Regions from separate parts of the Homo sapiens genome. Here region 2 is linked to region 1. Evidence: promoter capture Hi-C in 16 types of primary human blood cells and fetal thymus (Javierre and others, 2016). All regions are on one chromosome and are shown on one strand. The core of a region is centred on a gene start or on the middle of the fragment in contact, and the rest is flanking DNA. Distances in the headings are between cores, read along the strand shown.

The links. Contacts are between HindIII fragments. The CHiCAGO score rates a contact against its expected background, and 5 or more counts as called.
Region 2: a contact is called between a fragment that was not itself captured here and the fragment with the promoter of HECA in region 1, in 1 of 17 cell types (total B cells). The highest score is 7.1, in total B cells.

What each region holds. Positions count from the first base shown.
Region 1 is chr6:139,130,831-139,138,206 of GRCh38, reverse strand. It overlaps HECA (hdc homolog, cell cycle regulator), which reads right to left and starts at 3,127. Exons shown (of 4, transcript NM_016217.3): 1 at 2,540-3,127. The coding sequence starts at 2,810. RefSeq lists enhancers at 2,056-2,175, 3,041-3,335, 4,614-4,663 and silencers at 2,286-2,555, 2,956-3,035, 3,146-3,335. The HindIII fragment of the contact is 5,734 bases long and covers 547-6,280 here.
Region 2 is chr6:141,487,128-141,494,503 of GRCh38, reverse strand. No RefSeq gene overlaps it. Among named protein-coding and RNA genes, the nearest start is that of GJE1, 640 kb to the left of the region's middle. RefSeq lists a silencer at 5,705-5,905. The HindIII fragment of the contact is 2,324 bases long and covers 1,734-4,057 here.

The DNA of each region.
Region 1 (7,376 bases), core at 1,878-4,377:
CCAGTAACGCCTCTCCCAAACCCCTACCTTATAAACTATAGCTTTAAATAACAAAGAAAAAAACAAAGAAAGAAAGAAAAGAAAAGAAAAAAGCATTTGATTTTGCACCCAGGAGTCCTCAGCATCCAAGTTCAGTTATCATCAACTGCAGAACTGAGGGGGGGTTCCTCACATTAAGGTGAATCATTCACGAAGACTTCACATCACTTCAGAAACAAGAATCAGGCATCATAAAATTTGGCTCACTCCTCTAATATAAGTTACATCCTCTGACCCTGACTATGGGAATGTTGGCCCATTCCTTTTTCTCCCCGCCTTTCACTTAATAAAATAAGCTCCTAATCAGAAACAGCTCTTCACATACACTGTGCTGCTAAATATACTTGAGTCTGCCACTTCAGAGAATAATAATAGGGGCCCCTTAACCAGTTTGTTATGTACAAACTAGGAGGTACAAGTAGCCTAAGAAAAAAATTTCCTCATGCCACCTTAAATTGGACTAATCTTTTGGAGCAAGAAAAAAAAGGAAACTGTGAACTTGAAGCTTCCACATAGGCCAAAAAAAAAAAAAAAAAGGAGCTGGTAGGGGGGTGGGCAGAGCAAACCAAAACCACCACCAGAACAGGAATGCAAGCTCCCTGAGGACCGGGATGTCTCGTCTTGATTACCGCTGGATCCCTTAGTATTGAACACGGTACTTGCAACACTGCAGGTAATCTTTTTTAAATGAATAAACGAAAGCTGTCATCATTGTTCATGCACTCTTTGTGAGAAACTTTAAGCTCATTATATATGTAACCTTTAAAATAACAAGAACTGGGAGCATAATAGGGAAGGGGCACTCTGAGCCTCTCAATAACACTAGGAGGGAGCCAGGGTAATTTTTTTTCAAGTTTACACATGAGGAAATTGAGGCTCTGGAAGACTGACCTTTCCAAGATGATGAAGCTCTAAATGGCTGAGCTAGGAGTCTGTCCTACCCAGAGTCTGAGCACCTTTCTCTCTGCCACATCAATACCAAAATGAAGGTTAAAGCCAGGAGAAAAACAAAAGAACATGAAGAACACAGGCTACCCAAAACTAGTATTCTGAAACATTCACAAACGGGGTAAGTTTGTTTCTGAAAATAAATAAATAAATCTTCCTATTTCAATATTGCAGAGACACAGCCAACGGGGCCTACAGTTCTAACAGGCGACATTCAGCCGCCTATGTTCAGAGCACTGTACGCTGCTTGTAAGAGCAGGTGCCCTGTTTAAAAAGTGCCTGATCTGGCTGGGCGTGGTGACTCACGCCTGTAATCTCAGCACTTTGGGAGGCCGAGACGGGCGGATCACGAGGTCAGGAGTTCGAGACCAGCCTGACCAATATGGTGAAACCCTGTCTCTACTAAAAATAACAAAAATTAGCCGGGCGTGGTGGCGGGCGCCTGTAATCCCAGCTACTCGGGAGGCTGAGGCAGGAGAATCGCTTCAGACCGGAAGACGGTGGTTGCAGTGAGCCGAGATTGCGCCACTACGCTCCAGCCTGGGCGAAATTGCAAACTCCGTCTAAAAAAAAAAAAACAAAACAAAAAAGTGCCTGATCTACATAAAGAATGGCTTCAAAAGCTGACGCTATAAATTAAAAGCCAGATATAACAATTCAAATCTCCCTTCATTAAAATACCTACGTTGTCTTCCTGGAAAAAGTGCCTGACTAGAGGAATTCAAAGAACTGTCCAAATAAGTAAGTGTTTGCCCAGCACCTTATAACGAAAACCATGGCTCTGTAATGAGAACAGAAATCCTGTCACATCTGGGCCAGTTCCTAAGTGTCCCCTCAAAAGGAACATTCAGGCACTACCTAAGATTATGAGGCTTCCTTCTGAAAATGTTAAGCACAATGACATAGAGAATGATTTTTCTTTTCTTTCTTTTCTTTTTTTTTTTTTTTTTTTAACTCCGGGCTGAGAACGGAAGTCAAGTTCAGATTCTCTTCCTTCCTCAAGCAAGCCAAAAAATTAAAGAGCAAACACAGAGGCCCTAAATGTCTCGAGGCCTCTTCACCTGTGGCGATCGACGCAGCAAGCCTGGGTGTGCTAAGAATTGAGGCTCTCTCTCCTTCATTCCGGGGGTTACGGGTGGCCTTGGAGCACCGGGAAGAATTAACCGGTGCCTAAGTTTTCAATCGGATCATTCTTCTCAACTTGGGCGGCTCTTTCCTCCCTTCCTTCCTCCCTTCGGCCCGGCACACACGGCGGGGCAGTGCCAGCGCGGGCAGCAGGCTGGGCCCGAGGGCAGCGCTGCCGCAGCCGGGAGCCCCTCAGAGTGTGGGGCGCGGGCTGCCCCCCGCGCGGACACCGGGCAGGGGCCGCAGATCTGTCCCCGCCGCCAGGCGTGGGGACCGCGAAGGGGCAGCCGCGGCGGGGCGGAGGGGCGGGGTGAGCACTTCCTGACTCTCGCATTGTCCACGCACCGCCCGCGCCACCCAGGGCCCCGCCACCGCGCCGTCCCCGTCGGGGAGGAAGTTGGCGCTCGCCCCGCCAGCCCCGTCTTACCGTTTTTGGCATCGCCCGCGGCCGCAGCCCCCGCGGCGGCCGCAGCGTTCGCGGCGCCAGTCCCCGCGCCTCCGGCGCCCGCCGCGCCTCCGGCGCCCGGCGCGCCCGCCGCCGCCGCCCCGCAACCGGCCGCCGCCGCCAGGGCCCCCCCGGCCGCCGCTCCCGCCGCGCCCGCCGCTGCCAGGGCCCCGGCTCCATTTTCCTGCTCGTCGCCGCTGCTGTTGGCGCGCTTGTTTTTGCGGCCGCCTTTGCTGTTTTTGGGGTTGGGCATCTCGCTCGCTCGCGTCCAGGTAGGTGCCCGGCGTCAGCGAAGGCGGATCCCAGAGGCACGGCCGTTCCCGGCCCTGCGTGAAGCCGGCTCCGGGAAAGAACGGAGGGCGCGAGCCGGCGGTTCCCTCGGCTCCCGTCTAGCCGCACGGCCCGTGCCGCGCCATCCTGGCCGCCGCGCCCTCTCCGGCTTCCTGGAGCCGGCACGCGGCCACCCGAGGCTCGCAGCCGCGCGGGCGCCGCGGGCCCGGGGCGCAAGCGAGACGCTCCCGAGCCGGAGGGAAAAGGCGGGTCTCCGGCTTGTTTTGATTCGGCTGCACTGACACGCTCTGGGCCCGCCCCCTCCCGTGACGACACTGGGGATTCGGCCTGGCCGCGCCCACCAGGTGACCTCACGGCTGACGGGACCGCCCGCGTGACGTCACGCCCCGCGCGGGGCCTGCCCACCTCGAGTGACGTCATCCAGGCGTCCCCACCCGGGCCTCCTGGACTCCCGGGCGTTCATGAGCTGCCCTGCTTGACTTGCTCCACCCGCCAGTGCAGTGGCATGTGGAGTTCTTCGGTGGCCTCCTGGCCTTAATGTAATTGAGGCTTAGAACAGTATGGTCTGGAAAAATAAGCTGTGACTAGAGCAAGAATGGAAAACAAAAGATTTTGGATTAATAACTCATTCAAAGGCTATGCCTTTCAGTAACAGTAATTAAAGAAACAGGGGACCGGGCGCGGTGGCTTATGCCTGTAATCCCAGCACTTTGGGAGGCCGAGGCGGGTGTATCACGAGGTCAAGAGATCGAGACCATCCTGGCCAACGTGGTGAAACCCTGTCTCTACTAAAAATACAAAAAAAAATTAGCTGGGCGTGGTGGCGTGCGCCTGTAGTCCCAGAAACTCGGGAAGCTGAGGCAGGAGAATCACTTGAACCTGGGATCCGAGATCGCGCCACTGCACTCCAGCTTGAGCAACAGAGCGAGACTCTGTCTCAAAAAAAAAAAAAAAAAAAGAAAAGAAAGAAAGAAACAGGGTAGAGTTCCCAGACAATGGGGATGAACACCAGGGTCCTGAATGGGAAGCCTTCACAGTCTGGTGGTGAAAACAATTCACTCAAACAAGACCCATCATCCAGGGATGTAACTAGATGTTGCCTGGACTCTGAAGCAGTCCCTGCTTGGGGGGAACCCATCCCTATGCATAGGGCTGAGTTGTCCTGAAAGATAGTGAAAGATAGGTAGCCAGGTTATGAGCAGTAGGAGATTAGGTGACACCAGTGAAGACAGGCAATATGAGGGCAGGGGACCCCTGGGAAGAGCTCCCCTTGATCTCTTTCTGCAATTCTATTCTACCTTTTCGGCCAACTCCTTCCCTTCCTTCAGGTCTCAGCTCAAATACATCACTTCCACAGAGACCTTCCCAGGAGAGCTGTCAGAAGTTCCACCCTGTTATTTTCCTCCTCCATCTCTAATTATGTTGGCAATGTAGGTGTTTACTTATTTCTTGTATATCTCCCTCTCACTGAAATGAAACCTCCATGGATAGATTTTATCTGCCTTGGGCACATCAGAGAACAGCTGGCATAAATTTGTTGAATGTATAAATTAGGTTCCTTCCTCACGAACTGTGGAGGAAAGACTAGTTTAGCTGACAGCTTTACAGTGTTCCCCTTTTATAGTGTAATCTTTAATTCAGCCCTTTAGTAAAAGCTCTGTCACGGTGTTGTTGTTACCATTAGAGGGTCTTGACTGCAAGTCGTCCAAGTTCTTGGCATTTTGAACAAACAATTGGACCAAACGCCCAGCAAAGCAAGGAAAGAAGAAAGCAGGGATTTATTGAGAATGAAAGTACACTCCACAGTATGGAAGCGGCCCCAGCGGTGGCTCAAGGTTCCGGATGCAGAATCTTCTGAGGTCCAAATACCCCCTGGAGGTTTCTCATGTAAATGAAGTGGTGACGCACAATTAGTCTGATTGGTTGCTTTCGTCAACCAATCAGAGGCTGAAGTGGAGTTAACAAAGGTCACACTTCTGTGCAATCACACTTTTTGCACACTTCTGTTTAAAAAGCAACCAATCAGAGGCTAAGGTGAAGTTACAAAGTTGCACTTCTATGCAAAGACTCCACCCGCAATCAGTCTCATTGGTTGCTGACAGCCAGTTTCCCATCTGCCACGCAGAAAAGGTGAGGGTTTGCAAAGGGAGCAGCTTCTGGTCCTTTTGTTACTCAGGTGTGGAAAGTTAGGGTTTTCCTTTCAATTTAGTTTAGGAAGTGGGGTGAAACGCCCTTAGGTTCCCTGCCTCCAGACTCTGTTCTCTGCCTCATTGTGAACTATACAGATAGACAGGAAAGTACAAGAAACAATACTCTCCCCCACATTCAGGTAATGGAGAGGAGATTCTGATTGCGAGCTCTGGGCAACCATAGCAGAATGCATAACAGAGCCTGGAACGGCAAGAAGGAGCAAGCACTGGATACTCAGGGGAAATTGCTGGTTGGACTCTTTAGTAGAAAAAAAAAGTTGAAATTTTAAATTCCCTAATATGTATTAGAGGATAGTGACCCTTTAGAAGGCCCTATTGATAGATAGATATTTTGTGCTTATATTTTCATGTCTATTTCTCCCCAACCTTGAAATCCCCTAGGTGCTAAGAGAGCAGGGATTGTGCCTAGCTTTCTAACGCTACAGAGTCTGGCATAAACCTTGACCCACAGTAAGTATTCAATAAAAATTTGTTGCATGGAAGATACCTAAAGCACTCTTCTTCTGGCTACATTATTCTGAACCTTAAAGTCTCAGCTAAATCATCAATTCTCTAGGAAATCTGTGACAACCCAAAACTAGACTTGTCCCCAGATACTCCCTGCACCTTCCTCACCATAGCAGCTTACACACTGGGATATTGCTTTGGTGGCCACTTGGACACCAAAAATGAGGGGTGAAAGAGAGAGTGAAGTCAAGAAATTCTGAAAATCAGAAGAAATGATGAAGGTAGTTAATTAAAGGGAGACTTCCCGGGGAGGGCAGTGGGTCCGTGGAGGAAGATAATGAATTACTGTTGCCCATTCAGACTTAGCTTAATTTCATTATTGATACCACTAGAGGTCTCAAAATATGTGGGTGATGTTAGCTTTGGCGTTTCTTTTTTTTTTTCTGGTTTTTTGTTTTGTTTTTTTAAGTCGTGAAGGCGAAGACATTTTAGGTTAGAGTACAAGAAAATTGAGATAATTATTTTCTTGAATAAGCACATTGCTGTCATGCCATATTGGATCAGAGTTAGTATGCATGTACCCTGCAGACAGACATTCACACCAGCTGCCTCCCACCTCTACATAACTGAGAATTAAGAATTGGAAACTTTCCACAAAAATATCCTAATTGGCTCAAAGCACCCAGACATCCAGCCAGTTGCTGTTCTGGTTAATTGTGTGAGCTACCTCCTTCTATTCAAACTGAAACAAAATGAAAAGGAGGAAGGAGAAGCTTGCCACTTCTTCCATGCTCAACCTCGCTAATCTATTTTTAGCCTTAGTCAAATTTGGTGCAGAGGCAATAGTTCCGATTTTATTGCTACAAAGACAATATACTAAAATCAAGATGTTAGGAACAAAATGTAGGTGAAGTTAAAGGACTCCATTTCCTATGTTCTATCCTGCTGTCCTAGCCGTTTTCCCACCATTTCTGAAGGTGAGAGAGAGAGACAGCATACCAAAAGACAAAAGGTGGCAGATGGTACAATGGAACATTCCCCTTAGAAACTTCCAGAAGTATAAAGAACTCCAAGGAACTGAGGAAGCCACTCTGTTCTGTACATCTACACTTGCCTTCTCATTCTTCAATTTCCCTGATCAACTCATGCTCTGATATAAACTTCAAAAAAATTATACCTCTATCCTAGGTTTCCTTCCCCCAAACCTCACCCACCCTATTGCTCACTTCTCTGCGAAAACAAAATAAAGCACAGCAACAAATCAAGGGCATCAAAAGCAAACAATTTACACCCTTAAGAAAGGGGTGGGCTAATCTTCAGGCTGAACTGGAATAAGCAGTCATTGTTTCAGTGCCCTAATTTTGTTCATTTGACATTTTGTGGCTGTCTTCTGAGCTCTTGGGGTCAGCTAAGTTTGGTTAGGTTTAAAGTACAAAATATATGTGTTAAGGATAATTGAAAACTTAGAACATAGGTAAGAAGCCAAATATCCAAATACACCTTGATCGAAAAAATCATATTGGAACTCAGAAGGAATTCTGCAGATAACACAGTAATGCACACAAGAATATGTCCACAATTGAAACATAAGCTAAAAGGTACTAAAGCCTGATCTGCTAAAAAGTCACTTCAAATAAATACACCTGGAGCAATGCATTGTCTTCATGCATCAGTTTTTTCTTCTGCAAATAGCCTTTCCTATGGCCACAGGTTTTCTTTGAGGAATAATGACAATTGTGATTATAAAAACTTTGAAAAAATGGAATATTAAAGCAAATAATAATATTGATTAATAAATTCCATAGATCTACTCTCCCTTTAGGCTGTTCCCGATTACCAATATTAATATTTTTCTCAAATATTTGCCCTTA
Region 2 (7,376 bases), core at 1,646-4,145, 2.4 Mb before region 1:
TGTACTTTATGAAAAATACTAAAAATAAATTATGATATTGTGGAATACCAAGATGGCAAGCAGAATGTTGTAAATGAATCTAAGTGTATCTCATATATATGGCAGACTTCATTGAATGGGGCAAAATAAAAAGGACCTGACAAGTAACTGAAAATCAGTGTTTCATTCAATATTATAGAAATAAATATATAATGAATTACATACAAACACTATCCTTTATTTGGTGTTTTTTTACTCAATTCTGAAACTATTTTATATATACTAGAGTTGATTAAATGTATACATATGTATAATTAGAGCCAAATGTTTCATTGTCAGAAAAAATACAAATAAGGTATGAGACAAGGTTAGAATAAATCCTATTGTGCTGGGTAAAAATCAAAGATAGGAATTCAAGTATGTATGTCTGTGTGTGTGTGTGTGTGTGTGTGTGTGTGTGTGTGTGTGTGGTATATACACATATATGCATGCATATGTATATGCATACATATATGTATATGTATGAATGCCTATGTGTATACATATATATGTATATACATATACATATATATACACAAAAATATATATACATAGTATATATATTTTATTTTGTAAACATAGTAACACATATGTTAACTAAAAGATATCTGAAACAGATCTCAATCAATTTAGAGGTTTATTTTGCCAAGGTTAAGGACCATGGCCCATGGCCCATGACAGCCTCCAGAGTTCCTAAGAAAATGTGCCCCAGGTGGTTGGGTTACAGTTTGGTTTTATACATTTTAAGGAGATAGAAGTCACAGGCAAAGACAAAATCAATACATGTAAGGTATACACACTGGTTTGGCCTGGAAAGGGGGGATGTCTCAAAGTTGTGGGGCTTCCAGATCATACGTGAATTAAAAGATTTCCTGATTGGTATTTGTTTAAAAGAGTTAAGCCCTGACTAAAACGTTGAATTTAGCATAAAGAAGTGTTTGAGTTTATATAAGAAGGTTGTGGAAGCCAAGATTCTTGTTATGTAGATGAAGCTTCCAAGTAGCAGTCTTCAGAGAAAATAGTTGGTGAATGTCTCTTATCAGTCCTCAAATAGTGTCAGATTCTCAAGAAAAGACGTAGTAAGAGAAGGAGATTCTCTACAGGGTGCAAATTTCACCCACAAGAGACAATTTTGCAGGGCCATTTCAGAATATGTCAAATAAATATATTTTGGGGTAAAATAATTAGATTTCCTTCAGGGCCTGTTATTTGTCATGTGATGCTATATGAGAGTTGGGTTGGAATTTGGTATCTTATTGCTATAAAAAGTCTGTTTTGACAGTCTTAGGATCTTATATTTAATGATAACACTAGTCAGTTGTATCTAAACTGCTGAGGAGGAGAGTATAATGAGACATGTCTGACATGCTCTTTCTGTCATGGCCTGAACTAGATTTTCAGGTTTCTTTGAGATCCGCTGGGCCAAGAGAGGGATGCTTGAGTCAGCTAGGGGTGCTTAGAATTTTATTTTTGGTACACTTATACATACACACACACACACACACATACACACACACACCATAGATTAATGTAGATAAGCACAGACAGAAAAGTAGATATAGATGTGTATGTATCTATGTGTTCATATGCACACATATATTTTCTAAATCTGTCTGCTCAGAGTGCCTGGCACACAGCAACATTCTTGTGCTCAGATCTTAGATCTTAGTTTCTAAGTAACATTCTCCAGTAAAAATAAATAAATAAGTAAAGCTTCTTGGCATAATTGCTGATGCTAGGCCTGGGACAGGAATCTTTTGGCCAGCAAAATAAAAAGTAACAATACTGAATTGCCTCACAAAGAAGAACATAAGTATCCATGAGTCCAAACTGACATTACGTAAGTAAATAAATGAAGTAGAATGGCTAAATTTCCTTATAGAATTCCAAATAATAAATGTGGAAGTAATTAAGGGAAAAGAAAATAGTCATTAGGAAATCATAGTCATTGCTTCAAGCAAGATCTGCTGATGAATGCTAAATTAGTTGACAAACTATTAAGAAGAAAGAAGATAGTTAAATAGCTTCAAGATATCTTCCTCATAATATTTAATAAGTGTTGTGATATTTTATATACATGTCTATACATTCTTTGATACTCCTCCTTCCAGGAGTTGGAGCTTAATTTCCCTACCCTTGAGATTAGGTTGGATTTAAAGACTAGCATTTATCAAATAGCATATGAAAAGGGAAATCCAGTAGTTTATAGTGAAAATTTTAACAAATAGCATTTTAATCAAATATTCAAAATTAACATTATGAGTGATAAGATATCCCTGTTATCAGGAGATGAGGGAAGAAAAAAATAAACCAAACTTCAATTCTATGAAACTTTTCCCCTAAATCCATAGTAACCTTAGACTAGTCATGGAAAATAGACAAAACTTTTAAGATAGTTATAAACAAGGAAGTCTGAGAAACTGAGATAGACTGGAGGAGACCAAGGAGACATGATGACTAAATGTAATGTGGTATCCTGGACAGAATCTTGGAAAAGAAAAAGGGCATTAGAAAACTTGTAAGTTCTGAACCAACTTTAGTTAATACTATTGCACCAATGTTAATTTCTTACTTTTGATAAATGTAGTATGGCTATGAAATATGTTGTGCTATTGTGAAATATATACTTGGTCTTTGTACTGTTTCCTGGTATATAACTACTAAAATTGTTGGAAACTTTAATGTGACCAGTATCTTTTTGTATGCTAATATGTTGATTTAGGCTGGCATCTCTCTTAAGTAGCTTCAGGATGGGGGCTGCTCACTGGAAAGAACAAAGCAGTGTTACAGAAAAGAGGTACCCATCCAGACCCCAAGAGAGGGTTATTGGATCTCATGCAAGAAAGTATTCAGGGTGAGTCCGCAGTGCAAAGTGAAAGCAAGTTTATTAAGAGAGTAAAGGAATAAAAGAATCGCTACTCTATTGACAGAGCAGCCCTGAGGGCTGCTGATTGCTCATTTTTACGGTTGTTTATTGATAATATCCTAAACAAGGAGTGGATTATTCATGCCTCCCCTTTGTAGACCATATAGGGTAACTTCCTGACATTGCCATGGCATTTGTAAACCATCATGGCGCTGGTGAGGGTGTAGCAGTGAGAACAACCAGAGGTCACTCTTGTTGCCATTTTGGTTTTGGTGGGTTTTGGCCAGCTCCTTCACTGCAAACTGTTTTATCAGCAAGGTCTTTGTGACCTGTATTTTGTGTTGACCTCCTATCTCATCCTGTGACTTACAATGCCTTAACCATCTGGGAACACAGCCCACTAGGTTTCAGCCTCATTTTACCCAGATCCTATTTAAGATGGAGTTGCTCTTGTTCACACGCCTCTGAACGCAGGATTAGAGGATTGGGACTTTCAGCCTCACACCCTACCCACAAGGGAAGGGATGAAATTAAGTTGATCATCAATGGCCAATGATTTAATCAATCTTGCCTATGTAATGAAGTCTCCATAAATACCCAAAATGACAGGGTTTCGAGAGCTTTTGGATAGCTGACTAATGGGGGTTCCTGGATAGCTGAACATGGTGAAGTTCCTGGAGGGTAGCACACCCCACCTCCATGGGACAGAAGTTCCTGCAGTAGGGATACTTCTAGACCTTGCTCTATGTATCTTTTCATCTGATTTTTTTTCATCCTTTAAAACATGTTTTGTAACAAACTGGTAAATGTAAGAGAATGTTTCCTTGAGTTCTGTGAGTGCTCTAGTAAATTAACTGAACCCGAGTTGGGGGATATGGTAAACCTGATTTACAGTCAGTCAGAAGGAGAGGCAAAATAACCCAGGGCTTATGATTGCTGTCAGAAATTAGGGGCTGTCTTGTGGAACTGAGTCCTCAACCGATGGGATCTGGCACCACCTCCAGGTAGAGAGTGTGGGAATTGAGCTGGGTTGGAGGACACCCAGCGAGGGCCTGCTGTAGAATTGATTGCTTGCTTTGCCCTTTGCATATGGTGTCAGAAGCATGTTGTGAGAGTATAGTAAGAGAAACTGAGTTTGTTTTTTCTGCTCAGGTGTTCACATTATGGAAAGCTTTTAAGTTTACATTGGAATTCTTTGTTCTATTTTTCTGTAGATCTAAAACTGTTTAAAAATAAAGAGGCTAGGTCGGGCATGGTGGCTCATGCCTGTAATCCTAGCACTTTGCGAGGCCAAGGCGGGCAGATCACAAGGTCACGAGTTCGATATCAGTCTGGCCAACATAGTGAAACCTCATCTCTACTAAAAATACAAAAAATTAGCTAGGTATGGCGGTGTGTGCCTGTAATCCCAGCTATTTGGGAGGCTGAGGCAGGAGAACTGCATGAACCCAGGAGACGGAGGTTGCAGTGAGCCAAGATCATGCCATTGCACTCCAACCCAGGCAACAGTGCAAGACTCTGTCTCAAATAAATAAATAAATAAATAGGCTAAAAATTATCACGTTTAGGTGTATTATAGCATTTATCTTTTCTAGATTTCTGTAAGGCTATTTAAAAATGTAGAAATGAAGTGGTTTTGTCCAATGACTTTGTTACTTAAAATCCTAAGAACCCTGTATGGTTAGAGTTCTATAATGTACACTGTAAGTTAACACATATGTTACCTTGTGCTGTGGTTTTAGTACATCCCCCAAAGTTTGTGTGTTGAAAACTTAATCCTCAATGCAGCAACATTGAAAAGGTGGGAACTTTCAATAAGGTCATAAGGGCTCTTCCCTCATGAATAAATTAGGTCTGTATCATGAGAGTGGGTTAGTTATTTTGGCCCCTTCTCTGTCTTGTCTGCTTTCTTGCATTTCTGCCTATCTGCCATGGGATGATGCAGCAGGAGGGCCCTAGCCAGATGCCAGCACCATGCTCTTGCACTTTTCAGTCTCCAGAAACTTGAACAAAATAAACTTCTTTTCTTCATAAATATTACCCAGGTATGGTATTCTGTTATAGCACTAGAAAGCGGACCAAGTCACATTGGGTTAGCAAATAAAAAGTCAAAATATTTCAATGCACAGATTTATAATCATGACAGGCAAAATTACTTATCTAATTCTGAGGGATAAATTATCTAACTTTTACTTGGAGTTTTCTAAAAGACCTAAAATGTTTAACTGTGGGTCAACCTTTACCTGATATGCTTACTTATAAAAGTCTAAGAATACTGATTTTTTTCTCAATTTGCTTATGTGTTTAGAATTATTATTTTTAAAAACACCCAACTAGTCTTCCCCACATCTAATTAATCAATATGCACAGAAAACAAATAAATAAAAATATAGAAAAGACACTGAAAATTTAAAGTTTAAGAACTAATGGATTGATAAGAAAAACAGTGCCTCAAAAATGGTTTTTATATATATATAAATTATGTATATAATACATTATAATGTATGTTTATAATAATATATAATTTTACCATAATTTATAATTTATATCATAAATTGTATATACATATTTGATAAAAATATTATTTTAACCATATATATATACACACACAAACACACACACACATATATATATAACCATTATATATATACTGATAAAAATTTTACACCACTGGAACATTTCATTATTTTGGCAGGATTGTCTTTGGGCAGCACAACCTTGAGGAGCAATGTAGCAATATCTTATAAGGTTGAAGAAACAGCCATAGACAGCTCAGTAATGAAATCATTACTGAATGTGTACACTAGAGAAACTCTTACATATGTGCAAATTTAGTAAATGCTCCCTGTCCCTTTGGCCTGATGAGTTCACCTACTGCTCCTTTAAACAGCTACTGACCTGCTGCTAGACTGTAACTTCCTGTTTCTGCATCACCCTTCTCCACTTAAGCCGTTTCTCTGAAAACAAATGAGATAGAAATGCTGGACACAGGAACACTCAGTATGTGCCTGTGTTAACACTACTTAAGGGAAATCCTCAACAATTGGGGCTAAAAGGCAATGGCTAAATCCTGTAGCTTCCTTGTACTGGGGTAGAACTAACCCAAGGTATGTTCCTTACAATCCCCAGTGGGATTGTGACTCAGTTGTTAACTGTGGTACTCAAGCTTGTTAAGACGTAACTTTATTGCCCCTTTTCTCTTACCTATTTCCCTTTCTTTCTTTTCTCATTTTTGGTGCCTGGGATCAACTTCAAAATAAAGTGTCTGTGTCCAAATCCTTGACTCCATTGGATTTGGTGGGGGAAGGATTAAGACTAAACAGAATATGAGAATGTCCATTCCAGCATGATTTGTAATAGTAAACAATCAGCAAAATTGAGGCTTTTAAATTTTATTGTGTTTTATAGTAGCTTAGCAAAATAAATCAATAATTTATTTTTATATCTAGAACAACCGAGAATTTACATTCAGAGATATTAAATTTATAATATCTTCATAAATTGGAATTGGAATTAATTTATAATATTTTCTTATGTGAAGTCAATACTACTGACTATCAAGACTTCTTATATGAAGTCAATACTATTATCACTTTTTGGTGTAAGTGTGGAACATACATTCAAATGACTACCAAGTAATGGGATTATATGCATGCTTAGAAATAAATACAGATATCAAGTTCTGAATAAGTGGTCATGGTAATATTTATTCCCAGATAATTGCAACAAACCATGTAGAAATTATATATTTCTTAGATGAATCAACAATTCAATTGTATTATACTGTGTATTAGTCTGTTCAGGCTGTCAGAACAAAATACAATAGACTTGATGGCCTAAACACAGAAATGTATTTTCTCATAATTCTGAAACTGGAAGTCCAAAAGCAAGGAGCCAGCAGGGTTGGTGTGTGGCGAGGGTTTGCCCCTTGGGTTGCAGATGATTGGATGCCTCCTTGCTACATTTGCTACATGCTGTCTTGATCTTTTCTTTGTGTCCTCCTGGAGAGACAGCTAGAGAGAGAGAGAAAGAGAGAGAGTGAGAGAGAGGAGAAAGTTATTTTTCTCTCTGGTGTTTCTTCTTATAAAGACATTATTTCTATTGGATTAGTGTCCCAATTTAATGATCTTATTTAACCTTAATTATATCTGTAGAGGCTTCTTCCCCAAATACACAAATACAGTCATATTGGCAGTTAGGCCTTCAATATATGAATCTGGGGGAAGGAATATAAATATTTAGTCTATAATATACTCACATTCTGTACTCAAGACTTTTTATTAAAATAAGTTACAAGGAACTTATCATCCACTGATTACTAAGAGGCGTTGGGAACCATATGCAAATAATTTTTAATCTTGATCCTTCTAACACTTTATTACAAACTATTCATATCTAGAATTTAAGATTTGGATGAAACTTTTCAGATTATCTACTATAAGCACAACGTACAAGGATATTTCTATGTGTTTCTTGGCAAGGTGCCAGGATC